Linked DNA regions of Homo sapiens: regions 1, 2, 3, 5 and 6 are each linked to region 4. Evidence: promoter capture Hi-C in 16 types of primary human blood cells and fetal thymus (Javierre and others, 2016). All regions are on one chromosome and are shown on one strand. The core of a region is centred on a gene start or on the middle of the fragment in contact, and the rest is flanking DNA. Distances in the headings are between cores, read along the strand shown.

What was found. The method cuts DNA at HindIII sites, captures the fragments that hold promoters and counts their contacts. A CHiCAGO score of 5 or more calls a contact.
Region 1: a fragment that was not itself captured here is called in contact with the fragment with the promoter of PPP3CC in region 4 in 1 of 17 cell types (naive CD8 T cells); the score reaches 6.0 in naive CD8 T cells.
Region 2: the fragment with the promoter of TNFRSF10B here is called in contact with the fragment with the promoter of PPP3CC in region 4 in 6 of 17 cell types (naive CD8 T cells, activated CD4 T cells, total CD4 T cells and 3 more); the score reaches 8.5 in naive CD8 T cells.
Region 3: a fragment that was not itself captured here is called in contact with the fragment with the promoter of PPP3CC in region 4 in 1 of 17 cell types (endothelial precursors); the score reaches 5.4 in endothelial precursors.
Region 5: the fragment with the promoter of TNFRSF10A here is called in contact with the fragment with the promoter of PPP3CC in region 4 in 6 of 17 cell types (non-activated CD4 T cells, naive CD4 T cells, total CD8 T cells and 3 more); the score reaches 10.7 in non-activated CD4 T cells.
Region 6: the fragment with the promoter of TNFRSF10D here is called in contact with the fragment with the promoter of PPP3CC in region 4 in 2 of 17 cell types (fetal thymus and naive CD8 T cells); the score reaches 9.0 in fetal thymus.

Annotation. Positions count from the first base shown.
Region 1 is chr8:23,004,948-23,007,647 of GRCh38, forward strand. It overlaps RHOBTB2 (Rho related BTB domain containing 2), which reads left to right. Exons shown (of 10, transcript NM_015178.3): 3 at 425-528; 4 at 1,013-1,198; 5 at 1,781-2,700. Among named protein-coding and RNA genes, the nearest start is that of RHOBTB2-AS1, 6.5 kb to the left of the region's middle. The HindIII fragment of the contact is 279 bases long and covers 1,312-1,590 here.
Region 2 is chr8:23,067,613-23,070,385 of GRCh38, forward strand. It overlaps TNFRSF10B (TNF receptor superfamily member 10b), which reads right to left and starts at 1,419. Exons shown (of 9, transcript NM_003842.5): 1 at 1,139-1,419. The coding sequence starts at 1,282. It also overlaps the pseudogene TNFRSF10B-AS1. RefSeq lists promoters at 1-2,511, 1,279-1,949, enhancers at 803-1,062, 1,603-1,652, 1,673-1,842, 2,624-2,773 and a cis regulatory region at 1,404-1,409. The HindIII fragment of the contact is 4,380 bases long and covers 1-2,701 here.
Region 3 is chr8:22,952,597-22,955,463 of GRCh38, forward strand. It overlaps RHOBTB2-AS1 (RHOBTB2 antisense RNA 1), which reads right to left. Exons shown (of 2, transcript XR_007060857.1): 2 at 1,023-1,229. It also overlaps a transcript of RHOBTB2 not described here. Among named protein-coding and RNA genes, the nearest start is that of PEBP4, 26 kb to the left of the region's middle. RefSeq lists enhancers at 1-167, 168-798. The HindIII fragment of the contact is 700 bases long and covers 1,224-1,923 here.
Region 4 is chr8:22,439,472-22,442,520 of GRCh38, forward strand. PPP3CC (protein phosphatase 3 catalytic subunit gamma) reads left to right here and starts at 1,607. Exons shown (of 14, transcript NM_005605.5): 1 at 1,607-1,987. The coding sequence starts at 1,939. RefSeq lists silencers at 1,190-1,379, 1,470-2,129. The HindIII fragment of the contact is 13,070 bases long and covers 1-3,049 here.
Region 5 is chr8:23,223,788-23,226,813 of GRCh38, forward strand. TNFRSF10A (TNF receptor superfamily member 10a) reads right to left here and starts at 1,315. Exons shown (of 10, transcript NM_003844.4): 1 at 969-1,315. The coding sequence starts at 1,274. It overlaps TNFRSF10A-DT (TNFRSF10A divergent transcript), which reads left to right and starts at 1,434. Exons shown (of 3, transcript NR_033928.1): 1 at 1,434-2,336. RefSeq lists promoters at 807-1,843, 1,272-3,026, 1,272-1,925, a cis regulatory region at 807-886, silencers at 908-1,157, 1,325-1,516 and an enhancer at 1,568-1,707. The HindIII fragment of the contact is 5,488 bases long and covers 1-3,026 here.
Region 6 is chr8:23,162,578-23,165,316 of GRCh38, forward strand. It overlaps TNFRSF10D (TNF receptor superfamily member 10d), which reads right to left and starts at 1,450. Exons shown (of 9, transcript NM_003840.5): 1 at 1,209-1,450. The coding sequence starts at 1,358. RefSeq lists an enhancer at 1,188-1,307. The HindIII fragment of the contact is 1,686 bases long and covers 264-1,949 here.

The sequences.
Region 1 (2,700 bases), core at 201-2,700, 570 kb after region 4:
AAGCTGAGAGGAGCAAAGAAGCTGGCAGCTGATAGCAAAAGACCAGAGGCTCACAAACATGCAGTTTGCAAGGAAAGCCAGGAACAAGGGTCAGCTCCCAAAGAGGCCCCTTCCACACCCATAGCAGTCCCTTAGGGTCTCTTCCACCCCCTTAGGGTCTCTGCTACCCTCTTAGTGTCTCTTCCACCTGCTTAGGGTCTCTTCCACTCCTGGTCAGCTTGGAGGCCACCCTTGTTATAGATTCTACAGAGATTTTACGTGGATGAAAGTTGTGCAGGGTGCACAGTGGGCGATGCCAGCCTTGTCCCTCCATGCCCAGTGATGTCTGGGGCCCCCAGGTGTCAGCCGGCGCTTATCCTGAGGTGGCACGCAGAGGTCCCCAAAACTGCTGCCTTCGAGTCCCACTCTTCCTCCCCGTCCCCAGGTGCTGGAACGCTCCCGAGACGTGGTAGATGATGTCAGCGTCTCTCTGCGCCTCTGGGACACCTTTGGAGACCACCACAAAGACCGTCGCTTTGCTTATGGGAGGTAGGGAAGGCCTCTAGCCGCCTGCAGAGAACCAACAGGGTGGGTTTTTCCCTGCTTTTCCCAGGAACAAAGCACCTCTGTGAAATTTCAGCTGGCAAGAAGAAGTGGAGAAAACAGCTCTGGCAGAGCCTCATGGGGGCTGGGGCAGCCTGGTGCAGTGAAGGGAGCCTGGGTCCGGGATCAGGAAGCCTGGATTGAGTTCCAGCTCTGTGCCTAGTAGCTCTGAGATGATGTTTCTCAGCTGTGAAGTGGTGAAAACAGCCATTTCTAACTCACAAAATAGCTGTGAGGCCAAAACAAGTCTTGAGCTCTAAAGTGGCACATAAATTGGAGGTATTGTGATTATATGTTTTGTGTCAAGAGCACGTGAGCAGATACCTAAGCCAGGTGTGGGACTGTACAGGGCTGGGGTGGGGCAGATGTTCCAGGACCAGGTAAGCTACCACTTGTTTCTCTGCCCGTAACCTTACTTTCCCACCCGCAGATCTGATGTGGTGGTTCTGTGCTTCTCCATTGCCAACCCCAATTCCCTCCACCATGTCAAGACCATGTGGTACCCAGAAATCAAGCACTTCTGCCCCCGAGCACCTGTCATCTTGGTGGGCTGCCAGTTGGACCTGCGCTACGCTGACCTGGAGGCTGTCAACAGGGCTAGGCGACCCTTGGCTAGGTAGGAGGTGCTGGTACCAAGGAGACAGACATGGATGGGTGCCTCACCATGGCTCCCTGCTCAGCCCTGGGGGAATTCCACTGAGCCTCATATCTCTCCCTCCATTTGGAGCAAGCTTGCATTGGGAGTCAACAAGCATGCTCATTCATTCATTCATTCATATACCTGTTGCACACCTCTGGTGTGGGCAGTGCTATGTAAAGCATCATGAAGAAAAATAGAGAGGAAGAGGTGATATTTGCATGAAAAAGTCCTATAATTTTGCTGAGGGATAAACTAAATATGTGAGCATGTTAAATACCCATGTGAAGCATTGCCTGCTAATTGCCAGAGAGGCAGTGCTGTCACGGCTTTGTACTGGGGAGGTCACTGGGGCCTGGCATAGTAGGGAAAGCTTTCTGGAAGAAAAAGGGCTTGGAGTGGACCTTGAAGGAGCTTGATGGGATTTGGCCAGACAGAGCAGGGCAGGAGTGGGTGGGGATTGGCACCCAGATCCTGAGCAGAGTCCCTCCAGCCTGTGGAAGAACAGGCAGCCTCCCTCCACCACCAACACAAGCTTGGTTTCCTTCTTGAACCTACCAGGCCCATCAAACCTAATGAAATCCTGCCCCCAGAGAAGGGTCGGGAGGTGGCCAAGGAGCTGGGCATCCCCTACTATGAGACCAGCGTGGTGGCCCAGTTCGGCATCAAGGACGTCTTTGACAACGCCATCCGAGCTGCACTCATCTCCCGCCGCCACCTGCAGTTCTGGAAGTCCCACCTCCGCAATGTGCAGCGGCCTCTGCTGCAGGCACCCTTCCTACCCCCCAAGCCACCGCCCCCGATCATCGTGGTGCCCGACCCTCCCTCCAGCAGCGAGGAGTGCCCCGCCCACCTCCTGGAGGACCCGCTCTGCGCGGACGTCATCCTGGTGCTGCAGGAGCGGGTGCGCATCTTTGCCCACAAGATCTACCTCTCCACCTCTTCCTCCAAGTTCTATGACCTGTTCCTCATGGACCTGAGTGAGGGGGAGCTGGGGGGCCCCTCGGAGCCAGGGGGCACCCACCCAGAGGACCACCAGGGCCACTCTGATCAACACCACCACCATCACCACCACCACCATGGGCGAGACTTCCTGCTCCGAGCAGCCAGCTTTGACGTGTGCGAGAGCGTGGATGAGGCTGGGGGCTCCGGTCCTGCTGGCCTCCGTGCTTCCACCAGCGACGGGATCTTACGGGGCAACGGAACAGGGTACCTACCGGGCAGGGGTCGTGTGCTGTCTTCCTGGAGCCGAGCTTTTGTGAGCATCCAGGAAGAGATGGCAGAAGATCCTCTCACCTACAAATCCCGGCTGATGGTGGTGGTGAAGATGGACAGTTCCATCCAGCCGGGGCCCTTCCGGGCTGTCCTCAAGTACCTGTACACGGGGGAGCTAGATGAGAACGAGCGTGACCTCATGCACATTGCCCACATTGCTGAGCTGCTCGAGGTCTTTGATCTGCGCATGATGGTGGCCAACATTC
Region 2 (2,773 bases), core at 169-2,668, 630 kb after region 4:
CCTGTACACTCTCCTCACTAGGACAGTTAGGTCCTCCCTCCACTCAGAGGTGAGACCAAGGACATACTGTGGTGTGGGGCGGAAACAGTGAAAACATGAGGTGTGTAACAATATCCCATGAAACTCCAATGCTTCACACTGACATTCTTCTAGGTCAACACCAGCATTCTCTTGACCTTCCTTTCACTGTTCCTCCTCTCCCTTCCAGCCCCTCTGTACAGTCTTGAGTTAGGTCTAGGCCCACACACTTCCCCACTCTGAGCTGCGGTCTCTTCCTCTGTAAAATGTGATGATTCAGAACCTCTCCTGGCCCCAAGCGCAGTTCCAGGCGCTGAGCACACCATGCTGTTCCCTACAAAGCCGACTCTTTGTCCCTTCCCCATTATCACGGATACTTGCCAAGAGGTGGCAAGAAAGGCTCTTCCCAGGCCAAAATGCAGCTGCTATTATCAAGCAGGTCAGGCCCCAAGTGCCACAACTCCCTTCTCCTAAATCTCGTTTTCCCAAGGAACCCCAAACAATGGCATTGGCGATGAGCGGCCCCGCACGCGTAGGGGCGCAGCCGCTAAGGAGGGGAAGGGGCCTCTCCAGCTGCGCCCGCGACGACTCCCGCGCACGGAACGGAACCACTGGGCCGCAGCGACCACAGGGGAGTTCTTCGCCGGCCGCAGGTTCAAAGCGATCTGCAATGAGCGCCTTTAGGAATTCATTCGAAGGCGCAAAAGAAAAAGAAATTAAGGCAGGAACTGAGCGAGGAAGGAAGGGAGGGAAAGAAAGGAAGAAAGAGAAAAAGAGAAAGAAACAGAAAGTAAGGAAAGAAAACAAAATCAAAGTCCGACGACCTCTCCGTGGCTTCACGCAGCTTACTCGGGAATTCCCTCCTTGTCGCCCTCCCCCACTGGATTCGGGAATTTACACCAAGTGGAGCGCGCGCTCTGTTCCCTGGCGGCCCAGGTCGCTCCTGCCCAACCCGGGGACCCATCTCTTCCCCCGACTCCGACGACTGGTGCGTCTTGCCCGGACATGCCCGGCCGCAGGCGACCCGGGCCACGCACCCCCGCCGTGTCCCCCTCTCTCCCTGCCCTCTCCAGGCGCCAGGCACGCTCTTCCCCAGCCAGGGACCGCGGCGGGGACTCACCAACAGCAGGACCGCGGCGACAACGAGCACAAGGGTCTTGGGGACCCGGGGCCCAGGCCTGGCTCCCCGCGCCTCCCTGGGTCCTGGGCCGTGCCTTTTCCGGGCCCCCGAAGCGGCCGGGGCGTTCTGTCCCCGTTGTTCCATGGCGGTAGGGAACGCTCTTATAGTCTCTCAGGCCCGTGGGTTTCAGCCCTTAAAGTAGATCGGGCATCGTCGGTGTATTTTGTGGGCGCAGAGATTGCGGGGTTCTCCGGCCGCGTGCTGATTTATGTGTCCAGGCTGACTTGGGGCGGCGCGGCTGTACTTTCACTGCCTCCGGGCAGGCGTCATTCGGGGCGGGGCGAATCAGATCCAATGTGCAACTGCAAATTCCACCACAGGTTGGTGACAATAAATAAGAGTCTCGTCAACGCAATCCTCCGCAAGCGCGTCCAAGTGGGGAGGGGAGGGGAAGGGACCGGAACTAACCTTCGCCCTGGCGGCTGCGCCCCGGGCTGTGGTTTGTTTCTGGGTCCTGTCCGCGCCAGGACAGGCACCGAAACTTGGGGGAAATGAGTTGAGGGAGGCACTTGGGGAGTTGACGCCTCCCGGGGTCGCGCGCTTGGCTGTGAACAGGGTCTTGAGGTTCAGAGTCCGCTTTCCAGGCGCGTCTTGATCTTCTCCCCTTCCCAGGGGCACCTGCCCCTTCTGTTCTCTCCTTCTCTCTTCTTTCCTTTTTTCTTTCGTTTTCTTTCGTTCTTTCGTCTTCTTTCCGTCCTTCCTGCTTTCTCTTTCCTTCCTTTCTCTCTTTCTCTTTCCTCCCTCCCTCCCCCTCCCCCTACCTCCCTTCCTTGTGGTTTATTTTTTGAGACAGTCTCTCTGTGGCTCAGATTGGTGAGCGGTGGTGTGATCCCGGCTCACTGCAACTTCCGTCTCCCAGGTTCAAGCGATACTCCCACCTCAGCCTCCCATGTAGCTGGGACTACAGGCCTGCACCACCACGCCTGGCTAATTTTTGTATTTTTAGTAGACACAGGGGTTCACTATGTTGGCCAAAAGACCATCGAACCCAGCTTACACTCACACCTAGTCCACAAATGTGCCTGTGTCCCTGCACCCTTGCTACACTTAGCTTTCATTTGTCACTAGTCTAGGAAATAAAACATGATACATCACATTGTTATGTATTTTCATTCCTTCATGGTACTGTGTCCGGAATTGGTGGGTTCTTGGTCTCACTGCCTTCAAGAATGAAGCCTCGGACCCTCGCGGTGAGTGTTACAGTTCTTAAAGGCGGCGTGTCTGGAGTTTGTTCCTTCTGATGTTCGGATGTGTTCGGAGTTTCTTCCTTCTGGTGGGTTCGTGGTCTCACTGGCTCAGGAGTGAAGCTGCAGACCTTCCCAGTGAGTGTTACAGCTCTTAAGGCAGTGGGTCTGGAGTTGTTCTTTCCTCCTGGTGGGCTCGTGGTCTCGCTGGCTTCAAGAGTGAAGCTGCAGACCTTCAAGGTGAGTGTTACAGCTCATAAAGGCAGTGTGGACCCAAAGAGTGAGCAGTAGCAAGATTTATTGCAGAGGGAAAGAAGGAAGCTTCCACAGTGTTACCACTGCTGGCTCTGGCAGCCTGCTTTTATTCTCTTATCTGGCCCCACCCACACCC
Region 3 (2,867 bases), core at 324-2,823, 510 kb after region 4:
GTGAAAGTGTATTCCAAAGCTTTTGAGGCCGGGTGTGGTGGCTCATGCTTGTAATCCCAGCACTTTGGGAGGCCGAAGGCAGGTGGATCACCTGAGGTCAGGAGTTCCAGACCAGCCTGACCAATGTGGTGAAAGCCCATCTCTATTAAATATGAAAAATTAGCCGGGCATAGTGGCGCATGCCTGCAATCCCAGCTACATGGGAGGCTGAGGCAGGAGAATTGCTTGAACTCGGGAGGCGGAGATTGCAGTGAGCCGAGATTGCACCATTGCACTCCAGCCTGGGCAACAAGAGTGAAACTCCTGTTCAAAAAAAAAAGTTTCAAGCGGGAACAAAAGGAAGTAAAGTGCACTTGGAAGAGCACCAAGTGGGCTACTTGAGAGATCAAGTGCTTGGTATGGCCTTTGACTTGGGGTCTTATACATTGGCATGCTTCTGGGGAATTGCATCCCTTCTCCCCTGATTTTTCCCCTGGGGTGGGCTGTCCACCTGCGCAGTGGCCTGCCAGCACTTAGGAGGAACCACATGTGCGGCGTGTTTACTGGAGTTATACACGTGCTCATTTGAGGCACTTTTCCCTTACCAATTGAGTGTTCCTAGAGGAACGTCATGTACCAGTTACACTCCGCCATTTTGCCCCATGGTGCGCATGCTTGAGCCCACTCTCCCAACTCCTAAGATCTTATTGTTGCTGATCACCAGCTTCAGGTGTTTCTATGTGTTGACAGACTGCCTTTCCCTGGTGCTGGCTCCTACCAATTATTATTTTAGAGAGACAACTAACCACAGTCTGACCATCACTTGATGACCACCTGACATTCCTGGGGTGGGGTTGGGGTGGGAGGGACCCTCTCCTGCCCTGCTCATATCTGCCTGACAATATCAGACCTTGCTCTTGTTCATTGCATTCTGCAAGCGATGAGTGACTGAACCTGCATTTTCGTTGCAATGGTAACCCATAACATATCTCTCAGTGTAGGGCCCATGTGGTTAGTTCCTCCTTTAGAAATGAGGAAATTAATTTCAATCAGACCAAAGAGACTTATTTATTTCCCTACTGCATTTTAGCACTGAGTGCTGTACATCATAGGCACTAAGTCAACATTTGTTGAGTTGAGTGGATGGAGTATGGGAGCTCCGGGAAAGTTCACTTCTGCTCTGTTCAGTCAGGCTCCTATTCCAGATGTTCAGAGTTGATTATGCAATCCTCACGATGTTGAAAAGCTTCCTGTAATATGATGATACATAGAAGAATGTGAATGGTTGGTTTGTTTTCCTGGCCTGTCAGAGCACTGCCAGATGTACAAGGCTGCCTTTGTACTCAGGGCTTGGCTGCTGATAAAATGGTCTAAACACTTGTAAATCGTATCCTATTGTCATGTAGGAAGAGCTTATATAAGTGAATAATCGCTATCTAATTGATCCCTTTGTGTTTGCTTCAAGCTATATGCCATCGATATGTGACTGTTAAAGGGTGGTTTCAAAAAGGGTAAAATCATCACTCTCACACAGACATAAAATGAACACATGGTAGATTTTTTATTTAACTCACCATTAATGAGGGAACTGGTAAGATCTTACAAGGGCAATCCAAGGAATGGACACATTGATAGATCAGAGATATTGACATGAACATGAAAATGGCAGCAAAACTAACTGGCTTCTTCCACAGCAGGAAAGGGAATGTCAGTTGAAGCTCCACCAGACAGGTTTTTTTTGTTTTGTTTTGTTTTGTTTTTGTTTCTGTTTTTGTTTTTTAACGTATGTATAGACAAAAATCACTCTATTGGCTGCTAGTTATCTACAATGTATAAAGTTGTAAAATAGCTTAATTCAATGAATCAGAGAACCTGGAAGAATGAGCTCTAAGCTATGTATCGTTTTCTATTGCAGACACTTAATAATCTTTTTTGTTTATTACAAGCTTCCTTGGCAGTGGTGACATTTCAAGTGAATAGGGAAAAGGACACACTATCCAACAAATAGTGTTGAGACAATTGGATTCACTGTGAAAAAATAAAATCATGTTGTGATGCCATACTTTAAACAGAACAAATTTCAGGTGGATTAAAAAATGAAATATTAAAATGGAAACTTTTAAATCTTTAGAATAATATGCAGGAGAATATCTTTAGTACCTTAAGGTAGGGAAGGAAATATGACAGAAAAAAAACCACAAACTGTACCAAGGAAACCATAGATTTGACTATATCTAAAACAAAAACCTTTTCTTTCGTCAAGATGCCCCAGATGGCTGGGTGCGGTGGCTCACGCCTGTAATCCCAACACTTTGGGAGGCCGAGGTGGGCAGATCACTTGAGGTCAGGAGTTTGAGACCAGCCTAGCCAACATGGTGAAACCCAGTCTTACTAAAAATACAAAAATTAGCTGGGCATGGTGGAGCACGCCTGTAGTCCCAGCTACTTGGGGGGCTGAGGCACGAGAATTGCTTGAACCAGGGAGGCAGAGGTTGCAATAAGCCGAGATTGCACCACTGCACTCCAGCCTGGGTGACAGAGTGAGACTCTGTCTCAAAAAAAAGAAAAGATACCCCAGATAAAAACTATTGCATTGCCTATGGCCAGTAAAGGATCCACTTTCCCAGAATGTATAAAGAGCTCCTGCAAATCAAATCAGAAAAAAATCAACAACCCAGCAAAAGCGGGGAAGCTCTAGGAAGAGACTGTGAGTGCAAATGACTCCGCACTGCAGTAGCCCCTGCACCGCCTTTCGGAAGAGCACTTGCATCCCAAACCATTAAAAGGAACCTACTGGGACAACTGTGGCCCCCGAGGTTTACCGAATGCCAAGTTTATCCCCACTCTGGCTCCATGTCCTCCAGGACTCTAGACCAATGTACAGACTT
Region 4 (3,049 bases), core at 357-2,856:
GGTCTTTTTTTTTTTCTTTTTTGCCGGCCCGCAATGTTTTCTTAAACTTTTTATTTTTAGCTATCCTGTTGAGGTTCTTCCAGATGAATTTTAGCCTCTGACCCAGGGGTATGATTTGATAGGCGTGGAGTTCTGGTTACTTCTTAAATGAAGAGTTTCCCCAGGATATCTGAACAATTCTCTTGGGTGGAAGACTCAAGGATCATGAAAACGAAAACCAAATTCTAGTCGGCTCCTAAAGTCCTTTTGCCTCCTGCGGTTACCATCAAAGAGCTATGGTCAAAATTCCAAGGGATAATTCAGGGTCTGATTCCACTATATATCCCCAGACCGCCTATACATAAATCCATATTATTGGAGATTTACGCTTAATCCTATAATCTTTTACCTAACAGCTGTCCAGTAGAATTTTCTGGATGTCCAATAAGGTAGCCGCGTGTAGCTCTTGAACACTTGAAATGTGGCTAGTCCCCTAGAGGAACGGGATTAATTTAAATTTACATAGCTACAACTACTTATCGGTCACTGCGGTAATTGTTAAGACTGGTTTTGCCTGTAACTTGCATATGTTTTATTGGACATCAGTTTCAATATTTCATTTGCATTGCTAAAAGTCAAAATCCTTTTGACTTTGCCAGTTACTCAGTGAGAGGACAGTTGGAGCCAGTTTCTGTTCTAGGCTTACAGTTTTAAGGACAGATAAAGGTTAGTTTTTAACCTCGAGATGAACAGACTGTTAAGTTTCTACGGACTTGCCCATGGGGTTCCACAGTGAGCCTGGGCCGGGGAGGCAGGTACTGTGTCAGGGGGAAGAAAAAAGGGGCTTCTAGCTGGGCAGGTGACACACAGGGCATAGGAAGAGGTCAGTTCTTGTGGCCGAGGAGGTCCGGCCCGGGGGTCCCAGGAGCAGAGATCTCCCTTCTCTTCGATGTGGAAAGTGAGGAGGGAGCAGAGCCTTGCTCAGAAACGGAGCTCCCCCAATCCCCCACCGCCCTAGCTACTGGACTGGAACTAGGATGGACACGAATGTCCTTCTCATTGTACTAACTGCACTCAACAAGCGGGAAAGATGAAGCGAGGGGGTTTAAATGTGTGCGTTTGTTGAATGACCCACAAAAACTGAAGGAGCGCGGCCGGACTGATCACACTCCTTGAGACAAAGCGGGTGGGAGACCCAGAGGTGAGGAGGGTGGTCGCCTGTGGGCGAGGACTGGGAGGCCAGGGGTTCTCGGCGAGGCGGTCCCAGGAGGCGGCGCGGAGCCGCTGCGAGGCCGCAGGGCCGGGTCGCAAGATGGCCGGGCCGGCCTCCCGCGCGGGTCGCGCGGGCCACGCGGGCGGGTTTCAGATGTTCCGGGCCCGGGTAGGGGCTGGCAGGAGAGAAGGGGCCGGCTGCGGGGAGGGCTGGCTGAGAAGAAGCGAAAATGGGCGGTTAGCAGCAGGGACCCGGAGCCGGAGGAGCCGAGAGCAGCGCGTGCGCCGAGCTCTACTGCCTCGCGGGAAGGCGGAAGGGTGGGGAGGGCGGCGCTCGGGGCGGGAGGCCCGGCCGGGTCCGCTAGGACAGCGGGGCCGCTGGGAAGTTGTGAGAGCGGCGCTCGGGGGCGCGCTTGCGTGCACGAGGGCCCGGGCCGCGAGCAGCCGCGGCCGTCCCGGTCGCCACCCTTAGCAGCGGTCGCGGTCGGTGCCGAAGCGGTGTTCCCCGCCTTAGCCGCTGGCGCCTCCCAAGAGAGCGGCCGGTGGGCCCTCGTCCTGTCAGTGGCGTCGGAGGCCGGCGCTGCGGTGGCCGCGCCCTTCTGGTGCTCGGACACCGCTGAGGAGCCGGGGCCGGGCACGGCTGGCTGACGGCTCCGGGCAGCTAAGGCTGCCCGAGGAGAAGGCGGCGGCCGCGGCGTAGGCGCACGTCCGGCGGGCTCCTGGAGCCTGGAGGAGGCCGAGGGGACCATGTCCGGGAGGCGCTTCCACCTCTCCACCACCGACCGCGTCATCAAAGGTGCCTGGCGGGCCGGGCCTTCCTCTGGGACCCGCGGGAAACGGCCTTCGGCTGGGCGGCGGCTCGGGGCGGAGGGAGGCTGGGGCCGGGCTGCGCCCACCCTAGGAGGGCTCGGAGGGGTGTAGACAGAGCCGGGCGGCAGCCTCCGAGAGCAGCCACCCGGACCCGGCGTTTTCTGCTGCACCTGGTCAGGTGCCTGGCCGTCAGTGCCAAGTTCCCTCCCGAAGGGTTCAGGGTGCAGTGGGGACTTCTTCTCCCACCGCCCCGAAGGGCCCGGATCCCTGTCTTTTTTTCTCTTTAAGAAACGACTCGGGGGAAGCCATCGGGGGTGGTGTGAGCAGGGAGTCGACTCTTCCAAGTAAGATATTTAAGATTAGATCTTTCTTGACGTCCGCCCCCCACCCTTTTTTAGGACGTATACCATGTGCCTTTTGACCCGCTTTCTCTAGATCATTGCAAGTCACTGCTATTACTGGAATAAACTTAGTATGAACAAGTCAGATAAATCCATTATATGATGTTTAAAATAAGTTTACGGAGCTCTTGACAGGGTAATGGTATTTTATTTTCCCTTTGGTTATAAAGACTTGGAGAATGACGTTTTCTGATTCATATGTGTACCTGCGTTAGATTTCTGTTGTTGTTATAAGAACAAAATGTAAAGGGCTCTTTGCTCTCTAAATCTTGTAGAGTTTTAGGTTATAGTTGTTTCTCCCTTTAAACTAAGAAGATGGATTACACATAACCACTAATTTATGTGCTGCTTTTATTCAGCCGTAAGTCTTAGGCACAACCCTTCTCTCTGAGATTAACAATCGGTTTGAAAGCGCTATTTTGTAAGAAGGGAATAGACTTAGACCAGCTGTGTTAGTGGCCTCTGGATGCAGGGGTTAGCGTGACAGTGGGGAAAATTATTAAGATACTTTTCTTCTTTTTCATTTTGGTATTAGAAGGAGAAAGGCAACTAATACTAGTGACGGGAATACATTTTTAAAAGGTGAAACGCCTTATTGCATGTTCAGGGAGGGGGAAGAATTTTAGTGTATAACTTAGGTTTCCCCC
Region 5 (3,026 bases), core at 65-2,564, 780 kb after region 4:
TTTTCCAGACTGAGTGATTGCTTTCACAGGAAACGCTGCCTCCTGAAGGAAGGGCGTGCCCCGCTCCTGGCTGCCTGCCTCGTGGTGGTCAATTCGCTGCCCTGTACCTGTTGATGCGCAAGAAAGTGGCTGGAAGGAAACTGCTGCCGGTGTGCTCAGTGGACTCGAAACGGAAGACAACGAGCAGAGGAGAGAAAGTTACTTTTTCCTGCCGGGCTGCGTGTTTAACCAATTTGTCTAAGAAAAGAAGGATGGAGGGCCGGGCGCGGTGGCTCACGCCTGTAATCCCAGCACTTTGGGAGGCCGAGGCGGGCGGATTTGGCTAACACAGTGAAACCCCGTGACTACTAAAAATACAAAAAATTAGCCGGGCGTGGTGGCAGGAGCCTGTACTCCCAGCTACTCGGGAGGCTGAGGCAGGAGAATCGCTTGAACCAGGAAGGCGGAGCTTGCAGTGAGCCGAGATCGCGCCACTACACTCCAGCCTGGGCGACAGAGAGAGACTCCGTTTCAAAAAAAAAAAAAAAAAAAAAAAGAAGAGAAGAAAAGAAGGACGGGGGTGGGGAGGGAATCAGGGAGTGGGGAGAATGGCGCTCCCCTTCACGCAGCTGGTGTGGCTGGGAGTTGGCTTGGAAGTTTACACACTTGAGCTCTATCGATTCCGAAACTTCCCGATACATCGTGAGGTGTGGGCAGGAGGGAGACGCGCCAGGCAGCAGCCAACGGGGTGGAGTCCCCGGGCCCAGCCTCCTGCGGGAGGGGGCTCTGCTGCCTCCAGGCCCGGGTCGCTCCTGCCTGGCCCCGGGGACCCCGTTCTTCCTCCGACTCCGACGACGGGCTCCTCCTGCCCGGACATGCCCCGCCACAAGTGACCCGGGCCAGGCACCCCCGCCGCGTCCCCCTCTCTCTCTGCCCCCTCCCGGTGCCAGGCGCGCTTTTCCCCAGGCAGGACCGCGGTGGGGACTCACCTGCAGCAGGACCCCGACGACGACAAACTTGAAGGTCTTGTGGACCCGGAGCCGAGGGCTGGCTTCCCGCGCCGGCCTGGGTCCTGGGGCGCGCCCTGCCCGGGCCCGGGCACTGGGTCCGTGCTGTCCCATGGAGGTAGGGAGCGCTCCTCGGCCCCCGCCTCGTGGTTCAATCCTCCCCGCGGAAGAGCCCCACACTTTGCTGGGTGTGGCCGCGGCTGCCTCTGTCCCACTCGCTGCGCTCCCGGGATTCGGAGTCACTGCCAGGAACGCACCTAGATGTACTCTAGCTGGTGGTGGCGCCATCCTGCCAGGTCAATCCAAGAAGCAGCGTGCTTGGCTATGACAAGACAGAACTTCGCATTCGGAGTTCAGGGCACCCCTGACCCCGCCCCCTTTTCGGGGCACCTGCGGCTCCTGTTGGCTAACCCTGAACTTCCTTCCTCTGTGACCGCCCTTGCCGCTCTCAGCTTCTGTTCCTCAACCACGGCCGCCGCGTGGATGCCGCTGCATTCGGAGTCGTTTTGCCACTTGGTCCCAGCGCCAGGCTTCTCGGTCGGGAGTTGACCTCAGCCTTTCTGTGACCCAGTTCCTGGCACCCAGCAGGCGCTCGGTGGACGGATGGGTGGCGGAATGAAGGACACAGAGGCCACTGCGGGGTCTGGCCTCTAAGAGGCTTTTACGGCCTCCTCCGTCACTACCGGGCGAGTGATTCAGCCTGCCTTTTTTTTTTTTTTTTTTTTTTGAGATGGAGTCAAGCTCTGTCGCCCAGGCTGGAGTGCAGTGGCACGATCTCGGCTCACTGCAACCTCCGCCTCCCAGGTTCAAGCGATTTTCCTGCCTCAGCCTCCTGAGTAACTGGGATTACAGGTGCCCGCCACCACGTCCGGCTAATTTTTTTTCTATTTTTAGTAGAGACGGGGGTTTCACTGTTTTGGCCAGGCTGGTCTCGAGCTCCTGATCTCGTGATCCGCCCGCTTCGGCCTTACAAAGTGCTGGGATTACAAGCGTGAGCCACCGTGCCCGGCTCATCCTGCTTTTGGTTTCAGGTCTCCATGCCAGTGAAATGTCACCTCAACTCCACCGTCCCTGGTGTCAGGCAAGCCCGAGGGACCCAATTCTGCCTTTCTTCTGGATTTTCCTAACCTGTTAAGAGTCTTGAAAGTCCTTAAACCACGGGAGACTATCTGGCACATGACACGGGATGAGACTTGGTGGGGGTCCCACGGGGGACAGGTCCTTCCAGCGGTTCCTCTGCACCCAGCGCTGCACGGGCATGGGGCGTGGGTAATCAGCCTCCCGAAAGCCACGCGAGTCACGGTCCTGCCTGCGAAGAACTCCCAGGGCGACCTTGGGGCTGAGGAGTGGGTAAGAGAAAGGGGGCGCTGATTGATGTTCATTTTTCTCCATATTTTAATGGTGTTCCGGTACCATTTGTTGAAAAGACTCTTTTCGACCGGGCGCGGTGGCTCACGCCTGTAATCCCAGCACTTTGGGAGGCCGAGGCGGGCGGATCACCTGAGGTCAGGAGTTCGAGACCAGCCTGACCGACATGGAGAAACGCAGCCTCTACTAAAAATACAAAATTAGCGGGGCGTGGTGGCGGATGCCTGTAATCCCAGCCACTCGGGAGACTGAGGCAGGAGAATCGCTTGAACCCGGGAGGCAGAGGCTGCGGGGAGCCGAGATGGAGCCATTGCGCTCCAGCCTGGGCCACAAGAGGGAAACTCCGTCTCAAAAAAAAAAAAAAAAAAGACTTTTTTTCCTTATCCAATAGCCTTATCACTTTTGTTGAAATTAAATTGACCATATATATGTATGTGTCCATTTCCGGACTCTATTCTGTTCCGTTTATTTATTTGGCTATTCTCATGCTAATTACCACATTGTCCTAATTATGAGCTGTATAGTCAGTCTTGAAATCAGGCAGTTCAAGTCCTCCCCCTACTACCCACCTCCCAAATGGTTTGCATTTCCGTATATATTAAATATAGAATAATTTTTTTCAGTTAAAAAAGCCTACTGGAATTTTAATTGGGATTGCATTGAATGTAGAGA
Region 6 (2,739 bases), core at 200-2,699, 720 kb after region 4:
AAAGTCCTGGCAGTCTGCACATCTTATTTTTATGTCCTTCTTGTGCACCCCACTACCAATCTCAGTTTCCAAACCCAACTCACAACGAGAACTTTACATCTTTTATGCCTAAGGAAGGGGCCATCCCGCGGTCCTGCCTATGGGATACAGAGGGGACACACGGGTGGCAGTGGAAGACACTGACTGCAAGCACCTTGGTTAACCGCTTCCTGCCACTTTCAGGGTTCTATAGGAAATGAAAGTTACAAAAAACAGCGTTGGAAAGCTTTTTCACAGGCTGTTTGTTAAACTGATCTCCAAGAAACACGTGTAACAGTGTAAACATAGGGTTAATTTTGTTTGTTTGTTTGTCTGTTTTTGTTAAGGCAGAGTCTCGCTCTGTCGCCCAGGCTGGAGTGCAGTGGTGCAATCTCGGCTCACTGCAACCTCTGCCTCCCGGGTTCAAGCAGTTCTCCTGCCTCAGCCTCCTGAGTAGCTGGGACTACAGGCGCAGGCTGCCACGCCTGGCTAACTTTTTTTTTTTTTTTTTTTTTTTTTTTGAGACGGAGTCTCGCTCTTGTTGACCAGGCTGGAGTGCGATGGCGCGATCTCGGCTCACTGCAACCTCCGCCTCCCGGATTCAAGTGATTCTCCTTCTGCCTCAGCCTCCCGAGTAGCTGGGATTACAGGCGACCGCCATCACGTCCGGCTAATTTTTGTATTTTTAGTAGAGACGGGGTTTCACCATGGTGGCTAGGCTGGTCTCCAACTCCTGACCTCAGGTGATCCGCCCGCCTCGGCCTCCCAACGTGCTGGGATTACAGGCGTGAGCCACCGCGACCGGCCTGGGTTAACGTTATGAACGAACGAACGAACGAACGAACGAAAGAGGCAACCGCTCTGTGGCTTCCTGAGGTTCACTCCGGGGTTTCCATCTTGACTCCCTCCCTCCGCTGATTCTGGAACTTCCTCTGGGGCAGCTCAGTGCGGTCCTCGCCGCACGGGACAGCCAGGGGGAGCGCGCGCTCTGCTCCCTCGCGGCCCGGTCGCTCCTGCCCAGCCCGGGCACCCCACTCTTCCCCTGACTCCGACGGCGGGTTCGTCCTGCCCAGACATGCCCGGCCGCAGGCGACCCGGGCCAAGCATCCCCACCGTGTCCCCCTCTCTCCCTGCCCACTCCCGGCGCCAGGTGCGCTCTTCCCCAGCCAGGGACCGCGGCGGAGACTCACCGGCAGCAGAACCGCGACGATGAAGACGACGAACTTAAGGATCTTGGGGTCCAGGAGCCATGGTCTGGTTCCCGACGCTGTCCTGGCTCCTGGATAGCGCCCTGCTCGAGCGCTCGAGGCGGTCGGGACGCTTTGTCCCCAAAGTCCCATGAGAAGGGAGGAGGGTGGATCGAAAGCGCCAAAAATCAATCAGAAATCGTCCCCGTAGTTTGTGCGCGTGCAAAGGTTCTCGCAGCTACACTGCCAGAATAGAACGTGCTCCTCCGCTTTTATACCCCGGAAAAAAGGCGTGGTCAGTTGTACTCCCTTCCCGCAGTCACTTCCAGGCACTCAGGCTGGGTCTCCCCCAGCACCTCCAGGAGGGCCCAGGTTGTGTGGGTGGGTGCATGGACGGACAGGAACTGGCTCTTTCCGGCAGCGGTGACCCAGGGCCTGCGGTTTGATTCCGGGTCCTGTCCAGGCTGTAGGCAGCAGAAGGGGAAGGAGCTGAGGCGCTGCCCGCTGCGCTGCTGTAGTCTGGGTAGTGAGCTCCAGAGGAGGCACTGGAGGCCCATCCTGAGCCTGCTCCCTCCCCGGGCCGCCTGTCTCTCCTCTTCTTAAACCCTGAACTACTTCCTGGCCTCAGGACTTCAGTCCACTCTTAGCTTCTGCTCCCACTCCCTCCTCCCACAGCGGCCTCACTGACCAGTGCACTGATGCCACTGATGTCTCCAGCCTCCTTGCTGCTGTGACCCAGCTCCAAGCTTCTCTGGCAGGGGCTTGGTATCCCTCAGTAGCGGGTGCCTGGCACCAAGGAGGGGCCCAGTGAACACATGAGTGGACAGAATGAAGGACACAGAGGCCATGACAGGCACCTGCAGAGGCTGAGGAGTAGGTAGGAGGGAGAGGAACGCCGGGGGCATCCCTAGCCACAACCTGGCACCCTTTGCATGGTCAAAGCACAAACACTCCCTGACCAACCTTGAGGGCTCTAGTATTGAGGCCCCATGGAGACAGGGGAATCAGGGGAGTGCCTTCCAAAGTCTGTCCCCAAGTCTATTGTCTACCCAGGTCCAACTGTCTGACCTTGGGCTACTTACCTCCCCATCCAGTTGAACACACTGCCGCTGTGAGGGCAGACCCAATGTGTGGTTTTGAAGGGTGCCAGCTTGTGACCCTAAGCAGTAAGGTCAATGGCAGGACTCCTAGACCCTTGGGATGAGTCGGCTCCTGACCCCTCACATGGTAGATAGAAGAGGATAGCGCTATAGAAATGAAGGTTTTTTGGCTCATGAGAAACCTGGGAATGAAATGTCATCCTCTCCACAGGCTTGGATTTGAGCGATGGATCACCCTGAGCACCTTCCAGGGCCCAGACAATGACCTAGGGTCAGAAATGTGAGCCAGGGCCGGGCGCGGTTGCTCACGCTTGTAGTCCCAGCACTTTGAGAGGCTGAGGTGGGCGAATCAAGAGGTCAGGAGTTCGAGACCAGCCTGGCCAACATAGTTAAACCCCATCTCTACTAAAAATACAAAAATTAGCTGGGCGTGG